2 separate regions of the Homo sapiens genome follow, and region 1 is linked to region 2. Evidence: promoter capture Hi-C in human tissues and cell types (Jung and others, 2019). All regions are on one chromosome and are shown on one strand. Each heading gives the region's core, a stretch centred on a gene start or on the middle of the fragment in contact. The rest is flanking DNA. Distances are from core to core; before and after follow the strand shown.

Region 1 (5,083 bases), core at 1,735-4,234, 1.0 Mb before region 2:
GCTAGTATGGAGAAGTATAATAAATGTTTCTGTATTAATGTTGTATCTTGTAACCCTGCTAAACTCACTTATTAATTCTATAAGATGTCTTAGAATTTTCTGGGACATGTTGTCTGAGAATAAAAATAGCTTGCTTCTTCCTTTTTCATCTGTATGCATTTTATTCATTTTTCTGGCTTTAATGTTCTGCCTAGGACCTCTAGTACAATGTTTTGTTTGTTTGTTTTGGGTTTCTTTTGAGATGGACTCTCACTCTGTAGCCCAAGCTGAAGTGCAGTGGTGCTATCTCGCCTCACTGCAACCTCCACCTCTGGGGCTCAAGCGATTCTCGTGCCTCAGCCTCCTGAGTAACTGGGACTACAGGCTTGCGCCACCACACCCAGCTAATTTTGTATTTTTAGTAGATACGGGGTTTCACCATGTTGGTCAGGCTGGTCTCGAACTCCTCACCTCAGGTGGTCCGCCCATCTCAGCCTCCCAAAGTGCTGGGATTATAGGTGTGAGCCACCGTGCCTGGCCAGCACAATGTTTAATAAAACCAATGACAGTGTTCTTCCCTTGTCTTATTCATGATCTGTGGGAAAAAAGCATTCAGCCTTTCGTTAAGTATAATGTTAGTTGTAGGCTTTAGGTATCATTCATTAGGATGAGGAATTCTGTTTCTAGTTTGCTGAGTCTTTTGATCATAAGCGATTACTGAATTTTGCCACATCTTTTTTCATTTATTGAGATGAATCATAGGGTGTTTTTTTTTTCTTTGAATGTGAATTACGTCTTTCTGAGTGTTGAACCAGCCTTGCATTCCTGTGAGATAACCCCACTTGATTGTGGAGTGTTATCTTTTTTATATGTTACTGGATCAGATTTATTAAAATATTGTTCAGGATTTATGCTTCCACAGTAATGTGCTACATAACGAATTTTGGTCAGCAGCAGACTACATATACAACAGTGGCCCCTTAAGACTATAATATATTTTTACTGTGCCTTTTCTATGTTTAGATACACAAATACTTACAATTTTGTTACAGTTGCCTCCAGTATTCAGCACAGTAACAAGCTGTACAGGTTTGTAGCCTGGAAGCAGTGGGCTATACCATACAGCCTAGGTGTGTAGTAGGCTACACCATCTAGGTTTGTTTAAGTACACCCAAAGTGTAAGTTCCCACAGTGACCAGAATCACCTAATGACACTTTTCTCAGAAGATGTCCTTGTCTTTGGGCGAAGCATGATTGGTATATTCATGAGTGATATGGGTCTATAACTTTCTGTTTTTTTGGAGTGTTCTTATTTGTTTTTGATAACAATAATATACTGGCTTCATGAAGTTACCTGGGAATTGTTCCCTTTGTTCTGAAAGTTCATTTAAGATTAGTATTATTTATTCATTAAATGTTTGATAAAATTCACCAGTGAAGCGATCCAGGTCTGGAGTTTTCCTTGTGGGAAGGTTTTAAAATTATGATTCAGTTACTTTAAATTTGAATAGCTAATAGGTATTAGCTATTCAAATTTTCTGCTTCTTGTGCTAATTTTGGTAATTTGTATTTTTGAGTAATATATCCATTTTAAGTTCTTGAATTGATTTGGCATGAAGGTGTTCATAACATTTCTCTACTCTTTTCTTTTTTTTCTTTCTTTTTTTTTTAACTGAGTCAGAGTCTCACTCCGTTGCCCAGGCTGGAGTACAGTGGCATCATCTCAGTTCACTGCAGCCTCCACGTCCTGGGTTCAAACAGTTCTCCCACGTCAGCCTCCCAAGTAGCTGTGCTTACAGGCGCACACCACCATGCCTGGCTAAGTTTCGTATTTTTAGTAGAGGAGGGGTTTTGCCATGTTGGCCAGGCTGGTGTCGAACTCCTGACCTCAAGTGATCCGCCTGCCTCAGCCTCCCAAAGTGCTGGGATTATAGGTGTGAGCCACCATGCCCGGCCTCTGTACTCTTTTCTTAATTTGGATAGAATTTATAATAATGTCTGGTGTGCTCTCTTGTTTTTCTCTCATTGATCTAGGTTGGGGTTTGTCCATTTTATTAATATTTTCAAACAGCCAGCTTTTGTTGTTGTCAGCCTTTTCTTGTTTGTTTTCTATGTCATTTATTTCTGTCTTTATTTTCTTCTGCTTATGTTGGCTTTTCTTTGGGGTAGAAGTTTGTATCACTGGTTATTTAGACTTTTCCAATATTAACATTTGGGCAATAAATTTCTCCTTAAACCCTATGCATCTTTTTTATTTCCCCATTTCTTTGAATCCTTTAAATCCATAAACATAAAAAAGTACCCCAAATACTGTTGTTAATTGCATCTCAAATTTTAATACATTTTTTAAATTAGTTTAAAATATGTTTATATTTTACATGTGATTTATTCTTTGACCCATGGATTATGCTGAAGTGTGTTTAGCTTTTAAATATTTAGGAATTTTGCAGATATTTTATTGTTGGTTTTTAACTCCACTGTGTTCAGAAAACATGCTTTGTATGGTGGTTGTCCTTTGAAATTGAAGACTTGTCTTACGGCCCAGCAAATGGTTTTTCTTGACAAATATTCTATCTATACTTGAAAAGAATGATCAGGCGCAGTGTCTCATGCCTGTAATCCCAGCACTTTGGGAGGCCAAGGCGGACAGATCACTTGAGTTTTAGACCAGCCTGGCCAACGTGGTGAAACCTGTCTCTACTAAAGGTACAAAAAAAATTAATAGCCAGGCTTGGTGGTGCGCTTCTGTAGTTGCAGCTGCTTGAGGGGGCTGAGATACAAAAATCGCTTCACCCCAGGAGGTAGAGGTTACAGTGAGCTGAGATCGCGCCACTGCACTTCAGCCTGGGTACGGAGCAAGACTCTGTCTCATAAAAATAGAATGTGTATCCTACAGTTGTGGGATGTGATGTTTCATAATTGTCTATTAGAATAAGTTGGTTGATGGTGTTCAAATCCTTATGATTTTTTTGTTCTATTGGTTACTAAGAGAGGATTATTAAAATCTACAATTACAATTTTAGGTTTGTCTGGTTTTTCATTTAGTCAGAACAAAATGTAAGTACTTGTTTCATGTGTTTTGAAACTGTTTTATTAGGTTAATATGTATTTTGGATTGTAATGCCTCTGGTAAATTTAGCCTTTTATCATTATGAAATATTTGTTTTTGTTAATATTCTTTGTCTTTATCTCCTTTTTCTCATATTTAATGTAGACTCCTTATGATTAGCATTCACATTTTTTTTTCACTCTTTTTGTTTTGTTTTGTTTTGATACAGGATGTCACTCTCACCTAAGCTGCAGTCCAGTGGCGCAGTCTGGGCTCCCTGCAACCTCTGCCCCCCACCCCGGGTGAGGTGATCCTCCCACCTCAGCCTCCTGAGTAGCTGGAACCACAGGCACACACTACCACGTCTGGCTATTTTTTTGTATTTTTAGTAGAGACAGGGTTTCACCATGTTTCCCAGGCTGGTCTCAAACTCCTGAGCTCAAGCGATCTGCCCACCTCGACCTCCCAAAGTGCTGGGATTACAGGCATGAGTCACCACACCCAGCCCACTCTTAACTTTGTCTCTTAAGTATGTCTCTTGTAAGCAGCGTAGCATTAGATCTTATTTAATTTATTCTGATAACCTTAGTCTTTTAATTGTAGTGTTTAGTTTATTTATATTTAATGTTGATAATTGTTGGGTTTAGGTTTCTCATCTTATTTGTTTTCTGTTTGCTGCTTCTGTGTTTTGTTCCTTTTTTTCTCCCTTCCTGCTCTTCTTGTAGAGGCAAATTCCAACATCTCTGTCATCTCTGTATCTGTTTCATTTACAGTCTTGTTTGTTTAAATATAGAATTCCTGGTTATGGGTCACATCTTCCTGCTCCTTGGCATGTCCAGTACTTTTAGACTGTGTAGTGGAAATGGTGGATGATAATGTTGTTGAATATGGGTTTTATTGTCCTTTATTAGTTTGTTTTGTTCTGGCAGGCTCTTAATTACTCAGATCAGTTTGATTCTCTCAAAGCTTGTTTTTAAACTTAACTTAGGGCAGGTCTTGAAGCCCTGTTCCTTAGACATGGCCTTGGGGTCTCAGTTTAATTCCTGGGATGTTCAGCAAGATCTTGAAACTCCGACTGATCAGAACTTCTATGTCTCTAGCACTGTGCCACCTCTGGAATCTGTTCAATTCACAATTCCTTCGTAGTCCTGCACACTTAGTTACAGCTCCAGTAAGCCCTAGGAGGTGTTGGTGATGTGATTGTTGTGTGTGGTCGCACTGGGAGATACTCTCCATTTTAATGGTGTGAACGTAACATTATGATATATAATGGTTGTCCCGTAGTGACTGTGTATTTCACACTTTAAACGTTATCTCTCATCTTCTGAATCGTCTGAGGATTAAGTTCACTGTAGAAACTTGGGAAGTGCCACATCTAACATTCTTAATGTAAATGGGTCCAAATCATAACTTCAAGGACCAACTTTTCCAAAATATTTTTGCTATATTTTAAAAAGAGTTATATTTATACAAATTACCATAGACAGTAATTTGCTGTCCATCTGTCACCAAGTTAAAATATCTAAGGGTTTTTATGTTGATTACCATGTAATTTTTTTTTTTTTGCATTTTTCAAAATTATGTATATGACTATAGCATAAAATTTCAGTGTGATCCAGGTATGAGCAAGGATAACAATTACTATATTTATTCTTCCTGAATAACAGTAAGAGGAAGAGCAGAAAAGGACATGCCTATTGTACTGGGCACTGTGCTGGGTGCTTTGCAAACATGATCTTGCTTTTTCTCATTTTTAATAATCCTGTGAGGTGGGTGCCATATGTCTTTTATAACAAGGAGTAAAATATTCTGAACCACTTTCCTGCCTATGCAGAAAATTATTCAAGACGACACATGTTTGAAAGTGGTAGAATTTTACTTAAAATCCACCTGTGATTGACTCCAAGCCTGTATTTTTTTCGACTGCATCATTTTGTCTGTAATACAGCTGTATTCAAACTATGATGGTGAAATACATAAGACCTTATTTTCTGTGTGTGGGTCAGGTTTTCCCCCATGCACGAAATTTATAGAACAGGTAACCTGGAGAGTGAG
Region 2 (5,445 bases), core at 1,904-4,403:
GCCAGCTCTGTGCTGGGCACTGTCCTGCCCACTGGAGAATGTTATGCACTGAAATGTTTGTGTCCCCTCCAAAATTCATATGTCAAAGCCTTACTCACTGTTGTGACTGTATTTGCCCTTATGGAAGTAATTAAGGTTAAATGAGATCACAAGAGTAGGACCCTGCTGGGCACAGTGGCTCACGCCTATAATCCCGGCACTTTGGGAGGCCAAGGCGGGTGGATCGCCTGAGGTCAGGAGTTCAAGACCAGCCTGACCAACATGGAGAAACCTTGTCTCTACTAAAAGTACAAAATTAGCTGGGCGTGGTGGCGCATGCCTGTAATCCCAGCTACTCGGGAGGCTGAGGCAGAAGAATCACTTGAACCCGGGAGGCGGAGGTTGCGGTGAGCCGAGATTGTGCCACTGCACTCCAGCCTGGGCAACAAGACCAAAACCCTGTCTTAAAAAAAAAAAAAAAAAAAGAGTAGGACCCTAATCCAATAGAATTCGTGTCCTTATGAGACGGGATTTGTTCCCTTGACTGTGACCCCCTTCGTGGGCAGGAACTGGAGTGGCTCGTTTCACTCAGCTGTTGTTCGTGGATGGCTAAATATTAACAGTTCAGTGAAGGGTCAGGGTGACAGCATCCTGCACCTGCCCTTTTTGACACCCGAGTTCTTGTTCAGTGTCCAGGAAGAACCAGGTCACATGAGCTATTTGGAAGGTAGTGCATGCGGAGGATTTCAATGGGTGATAAAAGTGGCTGTCAGCAGGATGGGGAATTGATGCGGAAGGAAGGTGATCTTTCCCTGAAGTCGCACCATCTGAAGTTAGCCGCATCTATCCACAGCTAAAGCTCAGCCGCATGTATCCCCAAGGCTCAGCAGCTTGTATCCCTGCTGGTCAGCTGCTTGTGTTGCTCTTTTCTTCCTTTTCTTCTGCCATCTGGTCTGGTTTTTACCGGTACAGGTTAGGGGGCGGGGTGGGCCAAGAAGGCAATCATTTGGGCAGAAAAACAGGGTCAGATGTTTTCACTTAGGGCTGGGGCTCCAGGCTTGAAGGTGGGAGCCCAGCCGTTCTGTGTCACTCATAAGAAGTGACAAGAGTGCAACCTGTCTCTCTCCCTCCCCTCATGCACACAGAGGCCACGGAAGCACACAGCAAGATGCAGGCCACCCAACAAGCCAAGAAAAGTGGCCTTAGAATGAAAACTATGTTACTGGCACCTTGATCTTGGAATTCCCAGGCTCTAGAATCATGAGCAATACATTTATGTTGTTTAAGCCCCCACGGCCGGGCGCAGTGGTTCACGCCTGTAATCCCAGCACTTTGGGAGGCCGAGGCGGGCGGACCATGAGGTCAAGAGATCAAGACCATCCTGGCCAACAAGGTGAAACCGCGTCTCCACTAAAAATACAAAAAAAAAAAAAAAATTAGCCGGGTGTGATGGCGCGCACCTGTAAATCCCTGCTACTCAGGAGGCTGAGGCAGGAGAATAGCTTGAACCCGGGAGGTGGAGGTTGCAGTGAGCCGAGATCACGCCACCGCACTCCAGCCTGGAGACAGAGCAAGACTCTGTCTCAGAAAAAAAAAAAGAAAGCCCCTTCGGCTGTGGTTTTTGTTTATGGCAGCCCAAGCGGACTCCTACAGGGACACAGACCCAGACCCTGATGCTGGAGGGGAGACAAGAGGATGTAAATCAAACCTCCTCAAGTCCCTGTCAAAGGACAACTATGGGCTGGCCTCGGTGGCACATGCCTATAACCCCAGCACTTTGGGAGACTACAGCAAGAGGATCTCTTGAGCCCAGGAGTTCGAGAACAAGTTGGGCATCATTGCAAGACCCCATCTCTGGAAAAAAAAATTGCTAGGTGCTGTGGCATGCACCTGTGGTCCCAACTACTTGGGAAGCTGAGGTGGCAGGATCACTTGAGCCCAGAGGTCAAGGACGCAGGGAGTTGTGATTGTACCACTGCACTCCAGCCTGGGTGACAGAGCAAGACCCTGTCTCTCTCTCCCTTTTTATTTTTTTTTGAGACAGAATCTCACTGCGTCGCCCAGGCTGGAGTGCAGTGGCATAATCTCGGCTCACTGCAACTTCCACCTCCCGGGTTCAAGCAATTCCTGTGCCTCAGCCTCCCGAGTAGCTGAGATTGCAGGCGCCCACCATCAGGCCTGGCTAATTTTTGTATTTTTAGTAGAGACGAGGTTTCACCATGTTGGCCAGGCTCGTCTCAAACCCCTGACCTCAAATGAGCCACCCATCTCGGCTTCCCAAAATGCAGGGATTACAGGCATGAGCCACCATGCTTGGCCAAGACCCTGTCTCTTTAAAAAAAAAAAGAAAGAAAAACAAAAAAAAAAAAAAGGAAAAAAGTACAACTATGGCAGGGCTGCAAAGGAGGCAGGAGGAGGTGGCAGAGCAGAAGGCTGAGGGATAAGAGGAGTTCACTATGCAGAGAGGGACTTGAGAGACTTCTAGGCAGCGAACACTGTGTATGAGCCCAAGAGGGAACTACAGGGCCCTGGACCATCCGGGCCCCGGTCCTCCACGGGCCTCGAGAGAAGGGGAGTTCCTGTCCCCTGACCCCAGCATCTTGCTCTGTCTCGGCCACCCCAAACCAAAGACTGCACTGGTCCCCAAGGTCAAGTCTCCCCCTGCCTCTGGTCAAGTAAGGAGTGCCACCAACTTTGAACCAGTCCCTTTCCACCTCCAGCTGCTCCAGACCCCGGATCTGGAAGGGGGCTGGCCATGCTGGGGTCTCTGGGTGGAGCTGTCTGGCCAGGACTTCCGTCTGAGATGGGATTTCTGGACAGAACAATGGAGCGCAGAAGCTCCAGCAACGTGTGCTCTGCAGGGAGCCCAGGTCAGGTTTGGAGAGGAGTTGCCCCGGATCCTGCAGAGCTTCCCCACCTGACTGCCACCCCTCCCAGCACCTACCCGCACCACTGCTCTCCGCCAGCCCCCACTTCTAGTACCTTGGCGCAAGGCAGGCTTCCTTTGAGAAACCCATTGACCCTTTCCTGCCACCTCTGAAGCTCTGCTCAAAGCATCTTTGTTTGAGGCTGGTCCGGTAAAGCCACAGCCCCGCCCCGGCCCTGTTCATTACTCCTTGGCTGAGCCTCGCGCTCTCCTGGCACTTTAAGCCCCCAGGCCCTCCCTCAACCCCAGTCAGCAGAAGGCGCCAGGCTGTGAGGGTGAGAGCAAGCCAGGGGCTGTGGGGGCTGCAGGGGCAGCCAGTGGGTGAGGATGAGGGTGAGGACGAGGAGGGGTGAAGGATGGGGGAGGGGGTGAGGATGAGGGAAGTGGTGAAGATGAGGGAGGGGAGTGAGGAGGAAGGGGGTGAGGATAGAGGAGGGGGTGAGGATGAGGGAGGGGGTGACGATGGGGGGGTGAAGGATGGAGGAGGGGTGATGAGAGAGGAGTGAGGATGAGGGAGGGGGTGAAGGATGAGGGAGGGGGTGAGGATGAGACAGGGGTGAGGATGAGGGAGGGGGTGAGGATGAGGGAGGGGAGTGAGGAGGAGGGGGCTGAGGATGGAGGAGGGGGTGAGGATAGAGGAGGGGTGAGGATGAGGGAGGGGTGAGGATGAGAGAGGGGTGAGGATGAGAGGTGAGGATGAGGGAGGGGGTGAGGATGAGGGAGGGGAGTGAGGAGGAGCAGGGGTGACGATGGAGGACGGGGTGAGGATAGAGGAGGAGGTGAGGATGAGGGAGGGGGTGAGGATGAGAGAGGGATGAGGATGAGGGAAGGGGTGAGGATAAGGGAGGGGAGTGAGGAGGAGGGGGGTGAGGATGGAGGAGGGAGTGAGGATGAGGGAGGGGGTGAGGATGAGGGAGGGGGTGAGGATGGGGGAGGGGGATGAGGGAGGGAGTGAGGATGACCGAGGGGGGTTAGGCTCCAGGGCTTCTGTCGAGACCAAGGATGCCCAAATATCTGGGTGGTGGGTGCTGCATACCTGGGCCCTGGGCAGAACGAAGGGTATACAGCCTGGGCCACCAGGATAAGTCCAGAACCCACCAGGAGCTGAGGACAGACAGAAGGACCACGGAGGGGGTGACGGGCTGGTGTGAGGATTGGTGCCCCTGGGCCAGGACTCTCCTCTCTTCTCCCTGCTGGCTCCAGACCAGAGTCCAAGCCCTAGGCAGTGCCACCCTTACCCAGCCCAGCCTTGAAGACAGAATGAGAGGGGTTTCCTGTCTCCAGGTCCTGCTCCTTCTGGTGCTGGGTGAGTGGGGACAGGGACTGGGGGTGAGGGCCGCAGACACCTTGGCTCCCAGTTCTCCCATCTCACTGCTCCCTGGGCCGGGCTCCCTGGAGCACTCTTGGGCTTTCTAATCTTGATTCCAAGGGCTCAATCCTCTCTGCCACTGACCTTGACCTCACCACACCTCGATGTGCTTGTCGGTGTCATGCTCATACGCCCTTGCCCCCTGCACCTTCACAGTGCTCTGGGGAGGGTTAAATAAGATAACAGACGGCACGAAAGCCTGGCGCAATGTCAGGGCAACATTGTTTCACCCTCCTTCCTCATCTCTGGCCTCCCCTCCAACTCCGTTATTTGACACCAAATCTATAATCTGGTCCCTTCCCTGCTTCCTCCTCCAGGAGCTGCTGGGACTCAGGGAAGGAAGTCTGCAGGTGAGGAAGCCTCGGAGTCCACCCGAGTCAGCCCCTCCTGGACCTCGGCCCCGTGTCTCCCCACCAACACCTGCCTCCCAGGCCCCAGGTCCTCAGCCAACCCTCACCGCCCCTGGTCCTTTTCTAGCCTGCGGGCAGCCCCGCATGTCCAGTCGGATCGTTGGGGGCCGGGATGGCCGGGACGGAGAGTGGCCGTGGCAGGCGAGCATCCAGCATCGTGGGGCACACGTGTGCGGGGGGTCGCTCATCGCCCCCCAGTGGGTGCTGACAGCGGCGCACTGCTTCCCCAGGTCAGCGCTCACCGAGGGCCCAGGCGGGGTGTGCAAGGAAGGCAAGGCCCGCAGAGGACCGGGCGTGGCCTGGCAGAGGCGTTGGGGTCGAGGCGGGCTGGAGGGGGTCGAGGACCCGGTGCTGGAAGTAGTCCCCCGCTCCTGTCCTGCAGGAGGGCACTGCCAGCTGAGTACCGCGTGCGCCTGGGGGCGCTGCGTCTGGGCTCCACCTCGCCCCGCACGCTCTCGGTGCCCGTGCGACGGGTGCTGCTGCCCCCGGACTACTCCGAGGACGGGGCCCGCGGCGACCTGGCACTGCTGCAGCTGCGTCGCCCGGTGCCCCTGAGCGCTCGCGTCCAACCCGTCTGCCTGCCCGTGCCCGGCGCCCGCCCGCCGCCCGGCACACCATGCCGGGTCACCGGCTGGGGCAGCCTCCGCCCAGGAGGTAAGGCAGGAGGGCGGGGCTCCGAGGCATCCGGGAGCCCCCACGTCCTCCTCCATCTGACTGGAAATCCCAGCCCCTCACTGCCCCAATCCAGGACCCAGCGCGGC

The links. The method cuts DNA at HindIII sites, captures the fragments that hold promoters and counts their contacts. A contact is called where the count stands out against the background at its distance.
Region 1: a contact is called between a fragment that was not itself captured here and the fragment with the promoter of PRSS33 in region 2, in 1 of the 25 tissues and cell types used here (aorta).

Annotation. Positions count from the first base shown.
Region 1 is chr16:3,828,567-3,833,649 of GRCh38, reverse strand. The region is part of intron 2 of CREBBP (CREB binding lysine acetyltransferase); the gene reads left to right. Among named protein-coding and RNA genes, the nearest start is that of CREBBP, 50 kb to the left of the region's middle. The HindIII fragment of the contact is 3,192 bases long and covers 1,389-4,580 here.
Region 2 is chr16:2,785,268-2,790,712 of GRCh38, reverse strand. PRSS33 (serine protease 33) reads left to right here and starts at 3,153. Exons shown (of 7, transcript NM_152891.3): 1 at 3,153-3,180; 2 at 4,109-4,211; 3 at 4,592-4,624; 4 at 4,752-4,914; 5 at 5,067-5,338. The coding sequence starts at 4,166. The HindIII fragment of the contact is 27,852 bases long and covers 1-5,445 here.